Linked DNA regions of Homo sapiens: all the other regions are linked to region 1. Evidence: promoter capture Hi-C in 16 types of primary human blood cells and fetal thymus (Javierre and others, 2016). All regions are on one chromosome and are shown on one strand. The core of a region is centred on a gene start or on the middle of the fragment in contact, and the rest is flanking DNA. Distances in the headings are between cores, read along the strand shown.

Region 1 (3,980 bases), core at 535-3,034:
ATTTCCCCATCTGTAAAATGGGATTAATATTTTCCTTCGATTTAAATGAGAATGTGTTAGAAACAACGTCTATGTGCTGAACTCTTAATCACAAACATTTCTTGGGCATAATCAGAAATGAAGGACATAAATCATCAAATGTAATTTAAAAATTTTAGCTTTCCAAATATGGAATATGTATTCTTTAATTTTATATCTAGAAGTTCATAATCTTTTACAGACCCATATCCTTTTGAGAATGTGATCACCCAACAGAGTCTTTATCTAGGAAAAAAGCAAATATATGCTATATTCTGCATATGATTTCTGGGAAGCCAAGGACCCTCAGAAGTATATGCATGAAATTAAGAAAGAAGCAGGGCATGGTGGCTCACATCTGTAATCCCAGCACTTAGAGAGGCTAAGGCAGGAGGATCACTTGAGGCCAGGAGTTCAAGATCAGCCTGAGCAACACAGGGAGACCCTCATCTCTACAAAAAATAGAAAAATTAGACAGGCATGGTGGCATGCACATGTAGTCCTAACTTCTTGGGAGGCTGTGGGAGAAGGATCACTCGGGCCCAGAAGTTCAAGGCTGCAGTGAACCGTGATCGTGCCACTACACCCCAGCCTGGGCAACAGGGCAAGACCCTGTCTCTAAAAAAAGAAATAAATAAATAAATTAAGAACAACTGATGTAAACTTTTAAAATTGCAAAGTTGAGCAGTGGAATTTAAGAATCTCTTCAAAGCAGAGAATCCAACTAATATTGAAATATACTGTCATTTACTTTTTCAAAAACAGATTATGCAAGAGTAGAACATTGTATTTTCTAACTTATCCCTCCTTTTTGGAGGTGATACAAATTTTTTGAAACATTTTTTTTTTTCTTTACAAAAATTGTTTTCTCTTTGTTGCCCAGGCTGGTCTCTAACTCCTGGCCTCAAGTGATCCCCCAGCCTTGGCCTCCCAAAGTGCTGGAATGACAGGCATGACCCACTGTGACCCACCAAAAGCATACATATATTTCAGATGAATCCATTTTAACTCATGGAAAGAAACTAGCAGTAGAAACCTCTTTCTAGCAGCTTGAGATAGAATGGTTCAAAGTATTAACATACTTTACTATTGCTCAAATATCATAGGAAGAGTTCTCAATTCTAATGCAATATATATTTTTAAACATAAAAACATACCAACCTAATTCCTATACTTAAGAGTCTCATGATAAAGTTTTATTTTTTTTAAAGTCGGATTTTTTTACTAGACTTATGCACTAATACAACATGTTTTTCTATAAATTAGCACATTTTTAGTTCTGTTTTATGTTATGTTTGTTACGTCGCCTGATAGTCGAAACCAGTTGTTCTCAACCTGCTACCAAATACCAACCTGGAAATATGCCACTATTTAAAAAGCCCGAAGAATAGGGTTTTGTTTTTCCTTTTTAATTGTTTGGTGTTCAAACTACATAGTAAACCAGTTGGCAACCATTACTGAACAAAAATAGTTTTTCGTATGCATGAGCACCATTTTCCAACAGAAAACACTTAACCATTTTTAAGGTACTGGAAGTCCATGCAAGGGTTCACATATGCAGTAAATATCCTTTCAATCTGGTTGTATCACATTGTTTCTGTGAAAGGAAGACCTGATATTGCAGATCTCACAATTAAATGGTAAAAATCAATGAAAAACTGCACCTGAGGCTCAAACACTAGCCAGATGGCCTTTGGTTGGAAAGGTCTCATCTGCTTCTTAAATCCCGCCGTAACTGTGAATGTTTGCGATGCCACCACATCCCCAGTACAAGAGAACTGGAGCATCTCTGGCTCCTTCCATAATCGAAGGGCTTCCAGCGTAGGGCGTAGGGGGAGAGGCCCGAAGCCCTGGAGACAGCGCCCGAGGGATGGAGGCCGCGCTCGGCTGCGCTCAGGTCCGGGTGGCTCCGGGAGCTGAGACCCCGCAGGATGCAGCGGGGGGGGGCCAGGGCCTGATCCCCTACCCCTGCGAGCCAGGGCCGCCTACGCCCCCACTGCTTCCCACAGGTAACGTCCAGCCCTCTCCTCCCCTATCCCCCGAAATATCCCGGTTCCGCTCCGCTCCGCTCGCCGCCCGTGACCCCGACCCCGACCCGTCCGCGACGGCGCCCTCCCCAGGAGGCAGCGGAGGACTAGGGCCAGGCCGCCCACCCTGGCGGCGGCGGCGGCTCCCGGCCAAGGCGGACCCTGGGGAGGACAGCAGCTGGGCCGCGGCCTGTCCCTAGGGGGAGCGGGCGCAGGGCCGCGAGTGGGCAGCGCCTCCGCCCCGCACGAACAAAGCGGCCAGGCGCGCCGGGCCGAGGCAGCACCGCCTCTCCGGGAGCGCGGGGGGCGGGGAGGATGGCGGGGGTACTCACCTGAGGGCCGGCGGAGGGCGCGGGCGGGACAGGCCCAGGAGACGGGACCGCGGCGGGCCGGGGCTCCGCGCCGAGGGCGCACGGGCTACGGGGAAGGGGCGACCGGCGCGACGTCCGCGGCGGGGCCCGGGAGCCCCGCGCCGCGGGCCGGGGGCCGGGGCCCGAGCTCGATTCTGCGGCCGCGAGGTATGGGAACCGGTCCGCCGGGCCAGGCAGCGGTGCTAGGCAGCAGGGGCAGCGACGCCGCCGCCTTTCCCTTCTCCTGCCCCCGTCCCTGCTCCGCCGCGTCCTCGTCCTCGCTGGGTCCCCGCCGCCGCCGCCTCAGCCTCGGCGCTCCTCGGGTTTCTTCTCTCCATCAAGGCCGGGCCGACCCGCAGGGACCATCCCGGAAAGTGAGGGGTTGTTGCCGTTTCCCGCAGCTGTTGGTGGCCATCTTTAATCCTCCTCCTCCTCCTGCTTTCTCCACCTCCCGCTGGCTGTCTGACTGACTGACTGGATCCTCCTCTTTCCCCTCCTGCTCCTCCTACTGAGCCGGCCGCAGAAATTGCAGCCGCTCAGCTTCTACCCCCTCCTGCCTTTCCTTCCTCTTTCCTTACTTCCTTCCCTTCCCTCGGCTTCCCGCTCTTGCCTCACTCTCAGCGGCTGCCTTCGCCCCTGTCTGCAGACAGCGCCGCTGGATGCTCCCAGCTGGACTTCAACCCCACTCCTCTCAGTCCCTCTCCCCACTGCCTTCCAGACGCGCCTCTTCCCCGCCCCGCGCCCCTCTCTCCTCTCCCACCCCTGCCCCTCTCCGCGGCGCTCACCCTCCTCAGTCCCAGTTTCTGAAAGGACTCAGCTGAGAAAGGACAACTGGGTTCCGCTTTCCTTAACCCTACACCCTTTAGCTGGATGCTGTCAGAGGCGATGGAGAAACGCAAAGGTGCGTTAATTTTACTCTAGCCAGAGTATAAAAGAACTGCCCACGCCAGCTATTGTACTACGCAGCTTCGAAACTCCTGCACGCTCTCCTGTGTGGCTCCCGTCCGTGATGGGACTGTAGTTGAGGAGCTCGGTCTCAAATGGTGCCTTCCGTCAGTGACCTTGAGTCGGTTGCCTAAGATTTTAGATTTTCCTTTTCCTTCCTGGGAGGGGCATTATTTATACCTTTGCAGTCCCACAAACAGTGTTTAGACCAAATAAGTATCCTTTAGTAAACCTAGAACTGCCAAGTGATCATCATTTTGCCCGTTTGTTCCTACTCAACCCAGCAGACAATTTGGGTCACGCTTCAGTTCTGGCAGTAAAGACAAACTGAGTCAGCAGTTAGGAGTGGACTCCCTTAAACAACAGAGTTAGAGTGGGGAAGTGGTCATAACATCGCTGTAATCACAAACTTGTTTTTCCTAACACTGCAATCTACAGAAGTTTCAGGATTTCCTCTAATAAACATAAGGCAAGTTGGATTTGCTGTTTTCTTCTTTTTGACGATTTTGCCTTTAGAGTTGGACCCATTTGTAATGATTTACTCGTCAATTACTCCAAGATAACAAAGTTGGAGGTAACATTGCTAACAAACACAGGTGATATATATGAGCACTTTGTGGGGGGGGGGTGTCACAGTTTT
Region 2 (3,980 bases), core at 379-2,878, 1.3 Mb before region 1:
GCCTTTCTTAAGTGCCTTTTAAAAGTAGGCACTACATGGCTAAAATCCATTTATTAATGCTATAGAGACTTGATTATTGTTCATATAATTGATTATTGTTTGTTCATATAATTGATTACTGCTGTCTTAATTGGGGACCAGTGTCACTCAGAAAGAGTGTTGACAGTATGGAAATTACAAAAGATGTTGTTTTTATTTACTATGTTGAATGGTGGTATGAGGGAATCACTGGACTAGCAAAACTCTCTTAAAGTTTTGACATGGGATGGAGTGTGTGGTGGTGGGGACCCTTTTTCCCACTGTTGAGGTTTTATTCTTGTGGAGGGAGCTCCACTAGTCTAGGATTTCTGGATGATGTGTGTTCCTCTTAGGCTCAGACATAGTGTCTTCTCTAGGTCCCTTCCTTGGTGTTTTTATGCCCCTTCCTTGCTCCTTTCTGGAAGATACGTCACTTATCTGACTGGTGAATGTGGAAGGAATAACTGACCAAATGGCTCAGCCTCTTCCCTTTTTCTCTTGGGAGGAGCCTGTCTTCTGGAAGCTTGCATTCCACTCTGATCATCCTTGTCATAAATGCACCAGGCAGGCCCTGTTTTTCAGAGGCTTGCCCAGTCCAGTGGTGCTTGGGATTCAAAAGATAAGCAGTGGCTGGGTGCGGTGGCCCACGCCTGTAATCTAAGCACTTTGGGAAGCTGAGGGAGATGGATTGCTTGAGCTCAGGATTTTGAGACCAGCCTCGGCAACATGGTGAAACTCCATCTCTACGAAAAATACAAAAATTAGCCAGTCTTATAACCAGGTCTCAAAAAAATAAATAAAAATTTAAAAAGACCAGCAGTTTAATTCTTGAGTGCAATGTGATCTACTTGCCTAGAGACGTAGCCTCATTTTTCAATATTAACAATGTGATATCTATTCTCCTAGCTGCCTTATTCTTTGGTCGGATTTCTTAATTGCCTCACAACATTTGTGAGAAAGATGAATGTCATTTACCAAGCCTGTTGAAATCCCAGCAGTCCTGTTAACAATGAATTGTGCACATTCTACTGGGGACTTCCTTCCTTTCCTTTCCTTCCTTTCCTTCCTTTCCTTCCCTTTCCTTCCTTCCTTCCTTCCTTCCTTCCTTCCTTCCTTCCTTCCTTCCTTCTCTCTCTTTTCTTTTCTTTTCTTTTCTTTTCTTCTTCCTTTCTGTCCTGAATCTCGCACTGTCACCTGGGCTGGAGTGCAGTGGCGCAATCTCAGCTCACTGCAACCTCTGCCTCCTGGTTCACGTGATTCTCCTGTCTCATCCTCTTGAGTAGCTGGGATTACAGGCACACACCACCACACCCTGCTAATTTTTGTATTTTTAGTAGAGACAGGGTTCACTGTGTTGGCCAGACTGGTCTCAAACTCCTGACCTCATGATCCGCCCGCCTCGGCCTCCCAAAGTGCTGGGATTACAGGTGTGAGCCACTGTGCCTGGCCAGGGACTTTCTAAGAGCCTGAGTGGAATACACTTCAGAATTATCTATTGAAGGGCAAGGGAGCTAGGGTGTCTATCCACCAACTCCTGTCCCTCACTGGCTGAGGGTTGCTTAATTCCCTGGTACTTTTAGCTTGCCCATTTTGTCGCTAGCAGAAGTCCTCGGCCAGAGAAATGCAGGTGTTTGATGCGGGAAACCAAGAATAAGATGAGAACAATCTACTGAAGCGCCAAGTAACTTTCAGTGTGTCCTGGGGAATGGTTGGGGCACTCACAGTGCCAGCGATAAGGTTCTCTGAATTCCCGTTGGCTATGCTAGTACCCTTGCTCTGTGATTCCACAGATGTTTCCTTAGTCAAATCCAGCATTGGATGGGTTTATTCTGTCACCTCAGCTGTAAGCTCTATGTGGGCAGGGACCAGATGCATGCTATTCACTGTGGTATTCTCAAGCCTAGATGATCAGTAAATATTTGTTAAATGTAGCCGGGTGCAGAGGCTCACGCCTCTAACCCCAGCAATTTGGGAGGCAGAGGCAGGCAAATCACTTGAGGTCAGGAGTTCAAGATCAGCCTGGCCAACATGGTGAAACCCTGTCTCCACAAAAAATACAAAATATATATATATATATTTTAGTCGGGCGTGGTGGCACGTGTCTGTAATCCCATCTACTTGGGAGGCTGAGGCAAGATAATCGCTTGAAGCCAGGAGGCAGAGGTTGCAGTGAGCTGAGATCACACCACTGCACTCCAGCCTGGGCAACAGAGTGAGACTCCATCTCAAAAAAAAAAAAAAATTACTTGTTGAATGAATGCTGTGGTCGGGAATGAATAAATGGTCACAGTGAAAAAATCATATGCAATTATTTTTAAAGCTAGTTTTGGTGTTTTGTAAGAAAGTACATTTGCTATACAAAGAATTGTACTGCTGAAACACAGAGACATGAAGTGCATGGTTTGGACCCACCTGATGTTAAGTTTGAAATAAACTTGCCTTTTACAACTTTATGGTCCTAGAAAAAGGGAGATCACATATTTTCCTTTCTTAGCAAAAATTGTTATCAAGGAATAGTTTCCATGAAGGTAAAACAGAGTAAGAGATTTGTTCTATTTGAAGTATTTTAAATAGGTTCTGTTTGTGAAGTTACTTGTCAAAGTTTCTCAACAGGAGAGAGATGGATTTCAGTGCTGAGGATATGATGATGTAATGTGACAACATTGCCAGTAGGGGGTGCTGTTTCACGTAGCATTAGAAGCTTTATGGCTTTGGATTCTGTAAATAGAGTTCACAACATTATTCTCGAAATGAATTAGATTAGTTTCCGAACGGTTGATAGGATTTTTAACGTCAGACAGGCAATAAAAGAGAAAGCACCAAAATCAGTCACCCCACTCCATAAGCAAAAAAGTCTGAGGGAGATAAAATCTGTAATTCATACAACTGCAGCCAATATGGGGAAGAAATAATAAAAAAGAAAAAAATGGCTAATTCCAAGTTGATTATATGCTCCAGTGTGGCCTGGATAATTCCAGTTTTGAAATACTATTCTGGATGGGCACATATGCTGAGAAAAATTCAGATATAATGGATAGTGGATAGTTTTTGTTATAGAGTCAAGAGTTGCTTGAATAGATAGCTTTAAGATGAACTGGGAAGTGCTGGGCTTAACTTTGTGAATTACCACATATGAAATACAATTATGCTCACAAATTACTATATTTAAAAACAGCTCACAAAGTAATTCTCATACTCCTGCATTTATAACTTGACAAACTGCTGAGCTGTCTTAATATTTCAATTGAATCTAATAAACACTTACTGGGGGTCTACTGTGTACCAGGCAGTCTGCCAAGCACTGGGAATCCACAAATTTTAGTAAGACAGAGCCCTCCCTTTGAGATTAGCCTTTAGCCAGGGGTTTTTAGGCCTTATAGAGACACTGCTTCTTTTCCATCACAGCCAAAGAACTCAGTCCAAGAGCTGTGGTGCAAGGAGAGGAGTGGTTGTTCCCTGCCTCCATGGTCTTCCTGTAGCAAGGTCTCTGCTCCTCTATACGAAGACCTTGTTTAGTCTGGAGGCAACCAAGAAGTAAGAATTGCCAACACACTGGTTATTCCTCTTGCATCACTCCTTTCAATGCAGAGGGAAGAACTACGGTCATTTTAGATGTTTATCAAAATCCAGTTAATAGATTTAAAAAGGATTATCATTCATCATACCTAAATGTCATAATCACTCCCTTTTCCAGGATGCCCGAAGAAGGCTCAAAGACACAGTGAAATGGCCAAAATAATATTCTAGGACTAGCCTAGAATATTCTAGTCTTCTCGCAGGTTCTAAAATGACAGCTCTAGTGCCAGGACACTAACACGACTGCCCCGAGATTTACCCCTTCCTCTCCCTCCAGAAACATTTGAGACGACAAAAGTTTTCCCATGCAGCAGCAGAAAGCTATCCAATTACTTTCTGGGGAGTGAAATCTTTTAGAAGACACGAACATCAAAGATTTTGAAATG
Region 3 (3,980 bases), core at 989-3,488, 1.1 Mb after region 1:
AAAACAATCCGAAGGCAATTCAAACGATAGCTTCACGTTAAGCAGCTGAGGCACTGGGCAAGCAAAATCTAATGAAGCTATATTTTCTCTGGAAGGCAATTAGTAAACTGCTCATATTTTGCTGCTGAAAGAATACATCAGCATGAACAGATGGAAATTTAGAACTCCACAAATGGAATTACAGACATTGATTTAACTTTCCCCAAGCAAATGAAAACCACAAAATACGAATTGCTCTTTCTATAATTAAGCACATAATTAGAGTGCATCAGATTCATATCCATTGTAGCTCATATTTCTTCCTCCTCATTTCTAAATTTATATATATTCTGAGTCTAACAAACCTACTTAGAGTTCAACTCCACACTGAAAGAGTCTTCTATGACAGATAGATGGTACTAAACTATTTCTCAAATTAAGCCTGCCATGGGTCACACTAGCTTTTTCACAGCATGACACATGCGGCAATAATAAGAAATCCAAAGACTCAAAGAGGTAGTCCTTGTGGCAGGACAGATGGAGAGAACAGCTGAGGGAGGAATTCAGCCAGTTTATTAACTCCATGTGAGTAGAACAAATCATATTTAAAAGAATTCATAAGGACATCTGGTCGAAAAACAGAATTTAAATGATGGCAGTTTTAGAATGGAGAAAAGAGAATCATGATGTCTCACAGTACAATATCACTGAGTTACCTCTTTGTTTTTCTACTTCCAGGAAACAAAAGGTCACCAGTGACCTGCACACAGATTATAGACCAAACTGGTGATGGGCACTTGGGAAATACTTGGACTAATTGTCAAGTTTAAAATATACAAGAAATACTAAAACATATTATGGAAATAAAATCACTAACATGCTAAACATTACAGATACTTGAAATTATTCACATTGTTAATTATTCTTTTCCTCATTCTAGGATACAGTAGTTTGTCTTACTTGTGAAAATATTTAGGGGAACTTAGATAAAATTTTTGTTTGATATTCCTAAAATGCTAGAAATGACCTCAGAAATCTTTTTGAGAATAAGCCCTTTATAAAAACCTCCAAATAGGTCTTTCCTGAGAAAACTCAATTGATGTGCTTTATCAAGTATAATAGTATGTTTCATTTATAAGCTTTCCAAGTTGAAATCCAAAGTAATAAGCATGTTTCAAAAAAAATCTAAACAAGTAAAAATGGGGAAACTTACTAAAACTGTGCACACATATATAGCATCAAGAAATAAACTAGCAGTAAAATCCAAGGTCATATTCAGTGTGATAGGCACTGCAGATCTTTTCTATTAATAAAAAGCAACAGAGGCTTTTTCTACCCATGAAATGTTTTTTTAAAAGAGCTTTCTTATTATTTTAGTGAAATGAAGTTTTTCCTTCTTAATAAAAATTTTCAAATTTCTACCAAAAAAAATCCTTAAGTAACTCAAGTTTTGCAGTTTATGCTTATTTAAATATTTGATAGGTATTTTCTGCCACTTGAGAGTTGCTATTAAATTTTATATAATAAACTTCACTTGCAAACTGACTTCCTTCTCAGACAAATCAAATGACAGCAAACAAAAATAATGCCTATTAACTATTTTAAGTACATTACTGTACCCTGTGGGGAAAATCAGGAAACAAAAACTGTAGTTTCAGAATTTCAGATGGATTAGTTATTCAGAAATTGTCTTGAGGACATGCCCTAACCTTTTGATATCACTCATCAAAGGAAAATGTGACTCACAAAGACTTTAATCCCCTTTCCTCCCAACGGGAGATACAGTCTGTATAGAGAGCTGTTTGCATTTATAACTCACTTAAATCATGTCTTCCAGATACTTCAGGTTTAACTCACAGTGCTACACTCAAACTAACCAATTTAATAAAAGGATTATAAAATATTTGAAGCAAACTTATGCATATTTTATTCAATGGTTTATCTCCAAACAGTAGATATCTACTGATGAACTATTTGAACATTAGATGCATCAAATTCATATTCATTGTAGCTCATATTTTTCCTTATCATTCCTAAATTCATATATACTGAGTCTAACAAAGTACATTGCTTCTAGTTATAATCAAATATATTTATAAGTCTATTCTTCACCATGTTGTTTCAGGAATTTATTATGGATTCAAGAGAATTCAGTAAAAGACAACTGGTTAAGCCACAGTTAATAAAGGTAGAAACAATGCAAACAAGAACTCATTCATGGAGTAGATTTAATAGAGCAAGTAACACAGGATATTCATAATCAAATGATATTAGCTTTTACAGTAAAAATGTATTTGAGAGAATTAAAAGTCAGTGATAATAAGGAATGAGAATAACTCCTTCCCATCATCCTCAGTCATGTGAACTATGCTCAAAGGCTTCAGATGGTCAATAAATTAATACATGAATCTTTAAAATATAAATTAAATATTTTTATTTAGTTGCTATAGTAAATAGAAAGATTTAATTTATAGTTTAAAGATTGTATACTTTTATGTTTAGTATAGCAACTTTAGGATTCTTTGGTTTTCAGTAATAATCTATGCATTTGGGTAACCAAACTTAGTCAGCTTGGTCAGGACTTTTTTGTTTATTTATTTTATTTTATTTTATTTTATTTTATTTATTTTTTTTAAGACGGTCTCACTCTGTCTCCCAGGCTGGAGTGCAGTGGTGCGATCTCGGCTCACTGCAACTTCTGTCTCCCGGGTTCAAGCGATTCTCCTGCCTCAGCCTTCCCAGTACCTGGCACTACAGGTGGCTAATTTTTGTATTTTTAGTAGAGATGGGGTTTTGCCGTGTTGGCCAGGCCCAAACTCCTGATATCAAGTGATCCACCCGCCTTGGCATCCCAAAGTGCTGGGATTACAGGTGTGAGCCACTGTGCCCAGCAGGACATTATTTTATATTCAGTCAAATAATAGTTTAAAAATCATAGCTAAAAGTGGATAAGCATAACTTGTTAATTATGATTCAAAGCAGTTGATGCACATCTGGTTGAAGATTAGCAGATTCTCACTGCAGTTTAGTTATAACTGATTAACATTTCAAGGGACATAGGATTTCAGATTCTACAGTCAGGAAACCATACACCAAACAAGTTAAATAATCAAGTAAGGTAGATAATTCATATTTGGAGGAGTTTATTTTGTTTCTTCAGGAGATGATAAGTTATCAAAGATTCTCATTCAATAGAAATTGCTATTAACTATTAGAAACCTACCAAGAACAATAAAAGCAGGGACCTGTTTTTTTTTCATTTTTTGTTTAAAAATTCAATGCTGAATCACTATCATCTAGGTCAGTGTGGAACACAAAGTGTGGGTTCAGTCAATATTTATAGAATAAGTGAATAAATACTAAACTGTTAACAAATAGTCAAAGCTTATGTGAATAACTCTGTTGGATAAAAAAGAGAAAAGGGTAAGAAGTGAAGAAGAGATAAAAAAGGAAGAAATAAAAAAGAGGTGAGTGAGAGGAAAGTGAAAAGTTCTTTCCTAGTGAAAGAGGTCTTTCCTATGGCAGCAGAAGAGTAGATTTACAGCAACCTAAAAGAAAACAGATGGCTGAATCCTTTCACTCCCCTTACGTACATGTGGTCCAACATTGTCTCAACAAGACTGTAGCCCTACAACCAACAATCGAAAGAGTGACATCAACACATAAAAGGAAGGAAGTGCACATTCAGTGGAAACCCCAATGAGAAATACGCTTCTGCCAAGACTATCAGGTTGGTATAGTACTTGCGATGTCTTGGCAAGAAATCATGAAATACTTGAAGAAATTAAATAATTATTAGGGGGATGCTTACTTCACTTTACTAGGGGAGGTCCTTGAGTACCTCTTCTAACATCTAAAGTCTTCTCCTCTCCAGAGGAATTGTGCTCCGTTCCCTGGTTACTTCTCCTTTACTTAGGGATTTCAGAATTGTGAATAAGGAAAGAATGACCTGGTAAGTGCCAGCCCTGGACACATTTGCCCACAGATGCTGTCCTCCCCCT

Evidence for each region. The method cuts DNA at HindIII sites, captures the fragments that hold promoters and counts their contacts. A CHiCAGO score of 5 or more calls a contact.
Region 2: a contact is called between a fragment that was not itself captured here and the fragment with the promoter of WDFY3-AS2 in region 1, in 12 of 17 cell types (total B cells, total CD4 T cells, megakaryocytes and 9 more). The highest score is 19.9, in total B cells.
Region 3: a contact is called between a fragment that was not itself captured here and the fragment with the promoter of WDFY3-AS2 in region 1, in 1 of 17 cell types (naive B cells). The highest score is 6.9, in naive B cells.

Annotation. Positions count from the first base shown.
Region 1 is chr4:84,963,832-84,967,811 of GRCh38, forward strand. WDFY3-AS2 (WDFY3 antisense RNA 2) reads left to right here and starts at 1,785. Exons shown (of 4, transcript NR_152775.1): 1 at 1,785-2,027. WDFY3 (WD repeat and FYVE domain containing 3) reads right to left here and starts at 2,859. Exons shown (of 68, transcript NM_014991.6): 1 at 2,378-2,859. The HindIII fragment of the contact is 8,814 bases long and covers 1-3,980 here.
Region 2 is chr4:83,642,182-83,646,161 of GRCh38, forward strand. No RefSeq gene overlaps it. Among named protein-coding and RNA genes, the nearest start is that of GPAT3, 110 kb to the left of the region's middle. The HindIII fragment of the contact is 2,178 bases long and covers 540-2,717 here.
Region 3 is chr4:86,054,371-86,058,350 of GRCh38, forward strand. All of the region lies in intron 11 of MAPK10 (mitogen-activated protein kinase 10), which reads right to left. Among named protein-coding and RNA genes, the nearest start is that of MAPK10-AS1, 63 kb to the right of the region's middle. The HindIII fragment of the contact is 2,245 bases long and covers 1,117-3,361 here.